Linked DNA regions of Homo sapiens: all the other regions are linked to region 2. The links are contacts of gene promoters, found by promoter capture Hi-C in human tissues and cell types (Jung and others, 2019). All regions are on one chromosome and are shown on one strand. The core of a region is centred on a gene start or on the middle of the fragment in contact, and the rest is flanking DNA. Distances in the headings are between cores, read along the strand shown.

The links. The method cuts DNA at HindIII sites, captures the fragments that hold promoters and counts their contacts. A contact is called where the count stands out against the background at its distance.
Region 1: a contact is called between a fragment that was not itself captured here and the fragment with the promoter of FARSA in region 2, in 1 of the 25 tissues and cell types used here (dorsolateral prefrontal cortex).
Region 3: a contact is called between a fragment that was not itself captured here and the fragment with the promoter of FARSA in region 2, in 1 of the 25 tissues and cell types used here (lymphoblastoid cells).

What each region holds. Positions count from the first base shown.
Region 1 is chr19:11,881,503-11,885,161 of GRCh38, reverse strand. No RefSeq gene overlaps it. Among named protein-coding and RNA genes, the nearest start is that of ZNF69, 4.4 kb to the left of the region's middle. The HindIII fragment of the contact is 6,745 bases long and covers 1-3,659 here.
Region 2 is chr19:12,932,375-12,936,391 of GRCh38, reverse strand. It overlaps FARSA (phenylalanyl-tRNA synthetase subunit alpha), which reads left to right and starts at 2,681. Exons shown (of 13, transcript NM_004461.3): 1 at 2,681-2,842. The coding sequence starts at 2,696. It overlaps FARSA-AS1 (FARSA antisense RNA 1), which reads right to left. Exons shown (of 3, transcript NR_149078.1): 2 at 3,355-3,422; 3 at 3,096-3,243. RefSeq lists a silencer at 1,341-1,446 and enhancers at 2,483-2,777, 2,499-2,998, 3,009-3,078. The HindIII fragment of the contact is 13,322 bases long and covers 1-4,017 here.
Region 3 is chr19:14,078,369-14,082,344 of GRCh38, reverse strand. C19orf67 (chromosome 19 open reading frame 67) reads left to right here. Exons shown (of 6, transcript NM_001277378.2): 6 at 337-721. The coding sequence ends at 511. Among named protein-coding and RNA genes, the nearest start is that of C19orf67, 5.4 kb to the left of the region's middle. RefSeq lists enhancers at 275-334, 595-884. The HindIII fragment of the contact is 5,618 bases long and covers 1-3,976 here.

The DNA.
Region 1 (3,659 bases), core at 706-3,205, 1.1 Mb after region 2:
CCTTGGTGTAATTCATAAACTGCTGCTAATTATAATAGATGTAATTTATCGAAGCTACATTTTTATTAATAGTTATTCGGGGAAATATGGGTTTAAATCTTGCAGTTATTTGGTCTCAGGTTTTGAACTTGTTAGGCACTCCCCATGGGACTCTAATGGCCTTTATGTAAACTTGAGAGTCAAAAGACTTATAAGGGGCTTCTCTTATTTTTTGGTGTTGTGGCTTTTCTTTTTTTTTGGTTGATGAAATGCCAGTGTGAAAGGGATCGCCAATTGGACAAGAGCGCAAGTGCCGCTCCAGTTACTTGGCAGAGTATCCAGTAAAGGTCCACTACAATACCACCATACATCTGCTTGAGGATGACTAAGGGCAGACTGATGGGTAAGTTTTTGGAAGGGCTTAAGCTTATTGCATCTTGTTAAGCTTCTAAGGAACGCCAGATTCTCCCCTCGTCGTGAGAGACATGAGGTGAAATTGACGTCAGGAGAAGGAAGCTGAATGGCCTTTGGGGGCTGGCCTGCAGGTTGTTGGACTTCGGGATATAGCAGAGAGAGAGCTTGGCATGATTTGTTGCCCCAGGCTGTGGAATTTTGGAAAAGAGCTACCATACAGCCTATGCCTGGTCGGCTGAAGGGCTATCCTAGTGGAAAGGAAACAGTCTGGGCCTCTAGTCTGCCATGCATACAAGCGTAACAATTGCTTTTGTTCAATGTGCGGACGGAATATTGAATCCATTCCAACCAGGTATTTACATCTTGATATCCTGTTTTAATTGCTAGGGTTTGTCTTAAATCTTTTACTTCTACAATATTTACTTTAGTAGTATCATTAGGTAGAAAACAGGTGGCAGTCTGATTAGAAGAAAGCTTAGAAGGAGAAGAGAAGGAAGGGGGTGAAGAGAATGAAGGATTAATAAAACGCATTTCGAAAGATCTTATGAGGTCTGTGCTGGCCAAGTTGGCTCCTGTTCCATAGAAGTGACTTAAAGTAGGTTTAGGGTCAGTAGAGGTGGAAATTTGTATGGGATTACATTGATTATACTGGCAATTGGGGAGGTGCTTTTTTTAGTGAAATGAATGTATGGTTTTAAGGATATACAGCCACCTGCTGATGAGGTCTAGCCTTGACATTTGGTTGTCCATAGGACATCATTCTAGCTATGACAGACTTGTTTTCTTATATTTGTTAAGGAACAAGAGTCTTGGTAGGGGGGGCCTTTCACCTTAAAGGGGCAGAGATACTTTTCTGAGGCTGAGACTTGTCTTTGACTTTGGAGATCTTTACAGGGTATGACTAGACATAGCATTAAACGTGATAACTTGGGGTGAGTTTGATTGAGTTACATTAATGACAAGGTGGTCAGCATTGGAAGGGGAAAAGAAGAAAGAGTAATAGAATAGATGTAAGAGGTTAAATTTTTCTTAGCTTTAGTTTGAGGGGGTTTTCCCCTGGAATAATGGCCTACGACTTTGGGGGTGGCGGTGCTTTCTTGACTCGGGTGTGATGGGTCTATCCTTTCTCTGCTGTCCAGACTGCAGTTTCAATGGTGGGAAGTACTAGGCCAGCTCCTCAGGCCGGTGTTGACGCACTGGGAACTCCAGGAGCCGCACCTGTACTGGAAAATTGTGAGTTTTGAGGGAAGAGAAAGTGGAAGATAAACCAAGTATGTAGGAATGTTGGCAGTGGATTGCTTTGAGAGGTAGTTTGGATTAATAGGAAGACAGAAGACATTTGAGTTATGGCAACTAAGTTTCTAGACTTGTTTGGCTAAGGATGTACATTTTCATACACATATAAACTTTAACTGTGCTATACATAGCTTGAGGTCTTTAATGGGTCCTCTAATTTAGGTGGGATAGGACTTCTTTCATAAGAGGTTTAAATAACATTTGAATTCCCTTCAGTGCCTACAGGAGAAACGGCAGCTGGTTCGGATTATCTGATTTGCTAGGTTATTTTCTTAACTCTTGAAAGATAGGATTTTTGGTGCCTGGGGACGTGGAAAATAGCTTTTTTTTTTTTTCTGGTAACTGAAGGTTATTTAACACTTGGGTTATTAACTCTTCATGAACAAGGCTTTGACCTTTATTATTGTCTGAAATTTTCTAAATGTATGAGCCACGATAAAGGTGTATTTAGAATCAATATAGATTAGTATAGATGGTTCCTTTGCAGTTACTTTAAAGCTTGACTAAGTGCAAACAGCTTACAAATTTGGGTAAACTATTAAACAATTTTTAAATTTTATTTCTCTAGGAACTTCTCTATTTATTATTGAACATCTGTTGAATCCTTTTTCCTTTAATCATTTTTGAAGGGGGTTTCTCTTAAGTTTGGCCGGACATTTGTATGGTAATCAGTTAAATCTAAACATGTGTGCTTCCTTTTTAGATTTGGATCTTTCGTTAAGAAACTTGTTAGGTTAAGCAAATTACTAGTAACATTAAACTATCATTTTTAACAGAATAGCCTCATATTTATACACATGTAATTCTTTTTTGGTGGTACATTTTAACATAGGTGACTTTAAAGAATCAGAGTTCTTTTCTGGTGGATATTTTCACTTTTAACACTGGCCTGACTATAATAAATGCTAGTGGATATATCCGCTGAAAGATTATCTACTTCTTGCTCAGGAAACTTAGCTGCGGGGATGCCAGGCTGCTTGGAGCCATCGCTGAAGCCCCGTATTACTTAGCCTCAGCAAAGTAAGGCAGATATCCTATAATGTAGTTTGCATGGGGCATAGGCTGGGGCCTGGCTCGCATGTCATGCAGAGCTGCCGTCAATACAGTGCCAGGACCTTGGACCAGCCAGTGGGCAGGAGCATGGGCTTTGCCGCTGCAGGGGTGCACTATGGGCCAGACAACGCTGACAACATGTTGCGGCAGATCCTTCATGTTGCTAGCCTGGCAAAAGCCATCTGGTGAATTAGGAGCTTGGAGTTCTTTAGGGGAGAGGGACTTAGGCTGGGGAAGAACAGACTTACTGGGCGATGCCTGAGGGGAAGGGTTGGGTATTAGGTGGGGAATGGTCTAGGGGATCTTGCGAGTTGTTCTTTTTGCTAGGATCCCCCAAGCCCCTTCCTTCACTGTCTTTTTCATTAAAGATGGTTCTATCTTAATAGGGCACATGTACAACTCATTTTCCTCCAAATATTAGTTTTTGACTTGCTCCTTTCAATCCTTGGAGGAGGGGAAAGGACAACTCCTTGCAACTAACATAGGGCATAATTTGTTTCTTCTCAGGAGGCAGGTCTTCTACTAGCAACATTTTCTATTAGAAGTTCACAAATCCATCCCTCATTCGACTTAAATTCTGGCCAGAAAACTAAGGGTTCAAGGATTCGTTCTTGAGTCTAAATGGAACAGCAATATTTTATCACTAATTGCTTTTTCTTATGTTTAGTCTTTTCATTATCTTTCTAATGTTTTAACATGAGACCTAGGGGACTATTAGGGGGGATATCTTTGTTGCTAACTTTGTCTTTTTTGCTTGTAATATTTCCTATACTGGGTCCTGGCTAGGCTCAATCCCTCGTGATAGGAATCTCTTGCCTAGGGGGGCTTGCTGTGGCTCAACCCCTCATATTAAGGATCTCTTGCCTATTTTGGGGGTTCCTTGTGGCTCAGCCTCTCAAATTAAGGATCTCTTGCCT
Region 2 (4,017 bases), core at 1,432-3,931:
GTGTTGTTGCCACTGCACACTCTAGCCTGGGTTACAGAGCAAGACCCTGTCTCAAAAATAAATAAAAATAAGCCGGACATGGTAGTTCACACTTATAATCCTAGCACCTTGGGAACCTGAGGCAGGCAGATTGTTTGAGCCCGGCAGTTCAAAACCAGCCTGGGCAACATGGTGGAACCTCATTCTTACAAAATATATATATGTACACATATGTAATATATTATATATGACATATAATGCATAAATATATGAATAGTATGTATATTATATATAGCATATAATATATAATATACATAACACAAATTAGCCTGGCCTGCTGGTACACACCTGTAGTCCCAACTACTCGGGAGGCTGAGGTGAGAGGATTGCTTGAGCCCAGGAGGTGGAGGCTGCAGTCAGCCAAGATCATGCCACTGCACTCCAGCCTGGGCAATAGAGTGAGACCCACTCCCTAAATAAATAAATAAATAATCAACATAAAATGGGAGGAGAGAAGGGACTTTGAGAAATGTATCCTTAATACAGAACCTCATATAGGGTCAGGATTTGGGGATATGAGTAATCCCATTTTACAGACTCAAATAATAATTGTGATGTAAAAGGAATAAATGTGTTCTGCTTATAAGAGTGTTCGAACATGGGCCACACTCAATTTAGTAAGCAGTGTGAATATGTGTGGGCATTTAATTCTCACAGTAACCTGGGCTCCAATCACCTCCATGTGAGCAAGAAACTGAGGCACAGAAAGACTACACCTTCTGGTTGAATGACATAAATAACAGATCTAGGATTCTTTTTTTTTTTTTTTTTTTTTTTTGAGACAGAGCCTTGCTCTGTCACCGAGGCTGGAGTGCAGTGGTGCGATCTCTGCTCACTGCAAGCTCCACCTACCAGGCTCAAGTGATTCTCCTGCCTCAGCTTCCCGTGTAGCTGGGATTACAGGCACCCCCACTGCACCCAGCTAATTTTTGTGTTTTTAGAGGAGATGGGGTTTCGCCATCTTGGCCAAGCTGGTCTTGAACTCCTGACCTCAGGTGATTCACCCGCCTCAGCCTCCCAAAGTGCTGGGATTACTGAGCCTGGCCAGCAGATCTAGGATTCTAATCTACCTGTGCTGACGTAAGTCACCACTGCCCACATGTGATTACTGACCATTTGAAATGTGGTTGGTCCGAACTGAGATGTGTTGTAAGTGTAAAATACGCATCAGATTTTGAAGATTTAGTATGAAAAAAAGTGCAATTTTTTTTTTTTTGAGACGGAGTTTCGCCTTGTCACCCAGGCTGGAGTGCAATGACACGATCTCGGCTCACCACAACCTCTGCCTCCCAGGTTCAAGCGACTCTCCTGCCTCAGCCTCCCAAGTAGCTGAGATTACAGGCATGCGCCACCACGCCCTGCTAATTTTGTATTTTTAGTAGAGACGGGGTTTCTCCATGTTGGTCAGGCTGGTCTCAAACTCCCGACCTCAGGTGATCCACCCGCCTCGGCCTCCCAAAGTGCTGGGATTACAGAGGTGAGCCACTGTGCCCGGCCGAGTGCAAAATATTTTATTAGTCATCTTTTTTTTTGTAAGAGTCAGGGTCTGGCTGGCTGGGCGAGGTGGGTCATGCCTCTAATGCCAGCATTTTGGGAGACCGATGCAGGAGGATAACCTGAGCCTAGGAGTTTGAGACCAGCCTGGGCAACATGGCCAAAACCCATACTTAAAAAAAAAAAAAAAGCTGGGTGTGGTGGCGCGCACCTGCAGTTCCAGCTACTCAGGAGCCTAAGGTTGGAGGATCCTTAGAGCCTGGGAAGTCAAGGCTGCAGTAAGCCATAATTGCACCACTGCACTCCAGCATGGGTGACAGAGCAAGACCCTGTCTCAAAAAAGAAAGATGTTTTGCACTGTGTTTCTATAGGACAGTGCTAATCTAGGCCATGCAGTATTTGCACTGACGTTACTCTCAGCGCACAGGGGTGGGAGGATCTGGAAGGTTTATAATTTATGACTTCATTTCCACCAACTCTCTGTAGAACCTTGGGCAAGTCATACCACCCTCTGAGCCTCAGTTTTCTCACATGTGTAATGCGGTTATATCAGTATCTACATCATAAAGTTTTGGGGATAAATGAAATACTACACGTGAAGTACTCAGTTCTGGGCTAAGTACTACCACATACGAGGTAGTCCACACAGGTTAGGTGCCACCTTGACTTACTAGGTGAATTCCTTTTCCCTCTATAAAAAGGGACGGTACCTACCCAGCCTTCCTTTGAAATTTTAAAAGTAGCTGACATCGCCAAAATGACCATCTCTGGAGCCCACCACCCACCGCCTCTCCTAGGGCAAGAGAGAATACCAGAAGGGCAGAGGGTTCTGTAACCCAGAGACGGGGAAGTCCAAGGTCACACAGCCCGCTCGAAGTGAGGCTAGATAAAACTCAAAACAGGGCGGTGCTTCTGACCTTGAGATAATCAATTTTACCCCTCTGGTCAACCAGACGCCATTGATGGAGCCAGGGTGGAGGTGGGAACTGAGTCCCATGCACCTTTTGCGGCTCCGTCGCCACACTCAAGATGACGACACATTGAGCCCTGTTCTACAGTTAGACACATTCAAGATGGCGGTACACACTCCGGTTCCGGTTCCGGTGGCTCAGCTCCCCCCGCCCACCCGGGCCCGGACACGCTGAGCACACTGGAAGGAGTCATGGCGGATGGTCAGGTGGCGGAACTGCTGCTCCGGCGGCTGGAGGCGTCTGATGGCGGCCTGGACAGCGCCGAGTTGGCGGCTGAGCTGGGCATGGAGCACCAGGCGGTGGTGGGCGCCGTGAAGAGCCTTCAGGCGCTGGGCGAGGTGAGCCGGGCCCGTGATGCCGGACCGCCTTGCCCTTGCACCTACAGTCCCCTTGCCACGGGCGCTCTACGTCCAAGCCAAATTCCCTCAGGCCTAGTTTGGGGTAGCTGTATATGTGTCCACTCCGGGATGTGCGGGCGGGAAGTGGGACGAGTGAGGGCCCAGACGCACGGATGTTCCTCATGCAATAAACGTTTATTGAGGCACGGTCAGCGTGGGTAGAGGGTACGATGATGGACGAGGAAGTCGCGGTTGCTGCCCTCACGCAGGTTGCGACGTAATAGGAAGGTGCTTCAAGAACCAGAGTGATGGGGGAAAACAGGGGACCCAGCTGTGACAGCTGACCCAGCCTTGGGGGTCAGGGAGAGCGGCCTGGTGCAGGTGACGGCTGAGTCTGTTCTCTGTTGAGGAAAGTGATAGCACTTTAGAGATCAGTGGCCGGGATCTTGGGGGATGGCAGGCGGCAAGGGAGACCAGCATAGCTGTAATTGCAAAGCCTCTTAGGTCTTTACCTCATGAGGGAACTGGGAAGCGATAGCAGGAGCTAGAGCCGGTCAGATGAGTGTGCTATCCACATCACCTTTGGGAAGAATTGGCATGGACAGGACTGGAGGTGAAGGGATGAAAGAAGAAGCTGGCACTTCCCCAAGCTGGAGGGCATGATGTCTGGCTATGGGAAGGAAGCTTGGGGGAGGTGGGGAAGGCGTGGGATTCAGGACAAGGCAGGGGGCGCACAGATGAAGTCCAGCCTTCTGACTTGGGCAAGTGGACAGTGACAGAGTCACAGGCGTAGGATGCTGAGGGGCCCGTGGGCCACCCAGAAGGCTAGATCCATGGGGCCAGGATCTGGGCTGTTTATCCGTAGAGCTCATGTTCTGTGCCCCACTTTGGTCTCAGCTTGTTTGTCCAATCCATTCCATAATCCTGGCTGATGGCCATGTTATTCCCATTTTGCAGATGTGACAACTGATGGTCAGTAACATAATCAGTGTGAATAGAAGAGGCCGATGAGCCCAGATTTGAAATTAGGCACTCAGGCTGCAGAGCCCATAGTCCTCAATGCAGAGGAGAGATGGCAGCTGTGTTGTGTGGGGTGACAGTGCCTTGACCAATATGATCTGACATTTGTATACGTCACAGAGGGTTAAATAATATAAGGAGGTGAGGTTCAATCT
Region 3 (3,976 bases), core at 501-3,000, 1.1 Mb before region 2:
TGAAAAGCACTTCATGCAGACCCCAGTAACAACCCATGGAGATCTATGCTATTGGCCCCATTTAACAAAGAAAACAGGGTGCTCAGAGAAGTTGTTACCTGCCCAAGGACACACAGCTAGCAGAGCGAATGGACAGGTCAGGACCAGTTATTCAGCCTCTAGGAGCCATTACTAAGTCTCTGATCAACAAGGAAACAAGTTTCCCCCGGGGGTTTTTCCCACCCGCAGCTGAAACAAAGCCTCTTTCACCTGAGCCTCTCACTCAAAGGGAGGGACTCCCGAGGGGCAGGGGGCACTCAAGTCCAGGCCTGTCTATCCCTGGCCCCCCCACCCCAGGATTTTGTGCCCGCAGCCGCTTGGGGACTACCAGCAGCTGCTGACCATCGGCTTCGAGGAGCCCACGCCCACGCTGGCCACCGACCTGCTGGTGCAGATCCTCACGGGCCAGGCAGGCCAGGCCCGGCCTCCGAGCGCAGCCGGGCCTGCGGGGTGGGCAGCGCAGGGGTCTTGAACCTGGGGAAGAGGGTAGGAGCTGGAACTTGACAGTTCCAAACTCCAGAATAGGGGGCAGGGGAGGGGCTCACTCGTTCTCGCAGTGCAGCCCGGCCTCGCCTTCCAAAGGGCCAGGCCGAGCTGACCTGTCTGCACCGAGTCCGGCTTGGCCGTGGGGCCCTGAATGCGGACACGTCAGTTTTGTGTTAAATAAAAGAAAGAAAGAGGTCACAGGCTCAGCGTCCGCTGCGAATGCCGCGCCCCTCCCCCGGGGGATTGCCCCACCCACTCGCGTGGCCTTCTGGGAAATGTAGTCTTTTGAAAGAAGCCTGGAATTCGCCAATAGGCGGACGAGAGTTTGGCGCATGCGCATAGGCGCACATGAAGCAAAAAGGGAAGTGGTGCCCGTCAACACCGGAACCCAGAAAACTGCAAGTTTAGGGTACCGGGGAAATTCAACGTCCACTGGAGGAAGAGACTTAAGGCTACGCCCACTCCCATATTTTGACCCGGAAGTTATTTATTTTAGCGTAGAAGACTACTTTTCCCGACGCGCCCCAGGAAAGTGCCCTCGATCAGTTTCCTAAGGGCCCGAGTTAGACTTTTTTTTTCTCTTCCAGCTTTTGGGACTTGGGGGCCGGACAGGTCGTCGTCTTTCTTGGGGTATCCGGGGTGCGGACAAGGTGGGAGAGCCCTACGGTATCCAAGCTTAGGATCTCTCAGCCTCTCTCTAATCTCGGACTGGAGAGGAGACCCTGGCTGAGAGAAATGAACTCACCTGCTCAAAGCTCCTGCGAGCAAGTGGCGGACCTTGGACCTGAACCGGGTACTTGTGATCGCAACCCGGTACTTGTGGCCCGTTGCAAGGAGGAAGGGTGTCCTCCTGAGCCAGGTGTCACTCAGCTGCGGGTTATACCCCTTTAATCCAAGAGGGACCCTTTTGGTTCTCCTCCCCTCCCCTCCCCTCCCCCCGCCCCCGGCAGCATTTTCATAGAGGAGACACCCAGAGCCCTGCCCTTATTTATGATTTTGAGCAAAGCACCTACCTTCCAGTCCCTGGCACATAGTATTAGCCTCCATTTCCAGATGATAAAAAAGGACGTTAGAGGTGAAATGAATCAATATTGAATGCCAACACTAGTTTCGCTCTTGTCGCCCAGGCTGGAGTACAATGGCATGATCTCGGCTCACTGCAACCTCCGCTTCCCAGGCTCAAGTGATTTTCTTGCCTCAGCCCCACGAGTAGCTGGGATTACAGGCTGATGCCACCAGGCCCAGCTAGTTTTTGTATTTCTAGTAGAGACGGGGTTTCGCCATGTTGGCCAGGCTGGTCTCCAACTCCTGACCTCAGGTGATCCGCTCGCCTCTGCCTCCCAAAGTGCTGGGATTACAGGCGTGAGCCACCGCGCCCGGCCACTATTGCTCTTCCATGGGTATTTCTGGTGACAATTTCTGACTGCATCAAGGATGTTTTTTAGTCCACAGCTGTGGTCTGAATGACATCAAGGAAATCCTGATGCTCCCTGATACCGCTTTGAGGGAGTCCCTGTGAGTTTTCCTGTGGCTCTAAGATGTTTTTCGGGGGGAGGGAAGGGTCTTGCTCTGTCACCCAGGCTGGAGTGCAATGGCGCAATCCTGGAACCTCCAACTTCTGCAAACTCTAACTCCTGGGTTCAAGTGATCCTCCCACTTCGGCCTCCTAAGCAGCTGGGAGTACAGGCAGCGACGATGCCCCTATTTTATTATTATTATTATATTATTATTATTATTGTAGAGAAGGGGGGGGTTCTTCCTATGTTGACCAGGCTGGTCTCGAACTCCTGGCTTAAGCTATCCTCCCGCTTCGGCCTCCCAAAGTGCTGGGATTACAGGCATGAGCCACCCTGCCCGGCCTTTAAGATTCTTTAGACTCGTGGGGTCCAATGGAAATATCAAGTGAGCTGCAAACGCAAATCACGTATGTAGTTTCAAATTTTCTAGTAACCACATAAAAAAATTAAGAGGTTAGGGCCAGGCGCCGTGGCTCATGCCTATAATCCCAGCACTTTGGGAAGCTGAGGCAGGCGGATCACGAGGTCAGGAGATTGAGACCATCCTGGCTAACACGGTGAAACCCCGTCTCTACTAAAAATACAAAAAATTAGCCGGGCGTGGTGGCAGGCGCCTGTAGTCCCAGCCATTCGGGAGGCTGAGGCAGGAGAATGGCGTGAACCCGGGAGGTGGATCTTGCAGTGAGCCGAGATCGCACCACTGCATTCCAGCCTGGGTGACACAGCGAGACTCCGTCTCAAAAAAAAATAAAAAATAAAAAATTAAGAGGTTAGATTCATTTTCGTGATATTTTATTTAACCTGTTATACCCAAAATATTATTTCAATGTATAATCCATGTAAAAAAATTATTGAGGTATTTTCCTTTTTTGTACTGTCTTAGAAATCTTGGCCGGACATGGTGGCTCATGCCCATAATCCCAGCACTTTGGGAGGCCGAGACAGGTGGGTCACTTGAGGTCACGAGTTCGAGACCAGCCTGGCCAACATGGCAAAATCCTGTCTCTACTAAAAATGCAAAAAAAAAAAACAAAAAAAAAAAAGGTGGGTGTGGTGGTGGGCGCCTGTGATCCCAGCTATTCAAGAGGCTGAGCCAGGAGACTCGCTTAAATCTGGGAGATGGAGGTTGCAGTGAGCCGAGATCGCACCACTACACTCCAGCCTGCGCAACAGAGCGAGACTCCATCTGAAAAAAAAAAAAAAAAGCCAGATGCAGTGGCTCACACCTGTAATCCCAGCACTTTGGGAGGCCGAGGCAGGCAGATCATGAGGTCAGGAGTTTGAGACCAGCCTGGCCAACATGGCGAAACCCCATCTCTACTAAAACTACAAAAATTAGCCGGGCATGGTGGCAGGTGCTGGTAATCTCAGCTACTCTGGAGGCTGAGGCAGGAGAACCGCTTGAGCCCAGGAGATGGAGGTTGCAGTGAGCCGAGATCGTGCCATTGCACTCCAGCCTGGGCAACAAGAGCAAGACTCCATCTCAAAAAAAAAAAAAAAAAAAAAAAGGAAAAGAAATCTAGCATTTCACATTTACAACATATCTCAATTCAGACTAGCCACAAGCAGCTCTAGACGGTCTCCTTTAAGTCAAATCCACTGTCTCTTAAGACAGGGTTTCGGGTGGGTGGTGACAGTACAGTACTGGAAGGGGAAGGAAACAAGCTTTGTTTCCTGGGTCCTGTTGCTGAGCAGCTTTCTACACCCTTGATTCTCAAACTTCCTAGTGTGCATCAGAATCACATGGAGAGTTTGATCATTAAGTCTGGGATGAGACCCAAGAAAGTGCTTTTTTTTCTCTCTCTCTTTTTTTTTTTTGGTAGAGACTTTGTCTTGCTATATTGCCCACACTGGTCTTGAACTCCCAGACTCAAGCAATTATCCCACCTCAGCCTCCCAAAGTGCTGTGATTATAGGCATGAGCCACCACACCT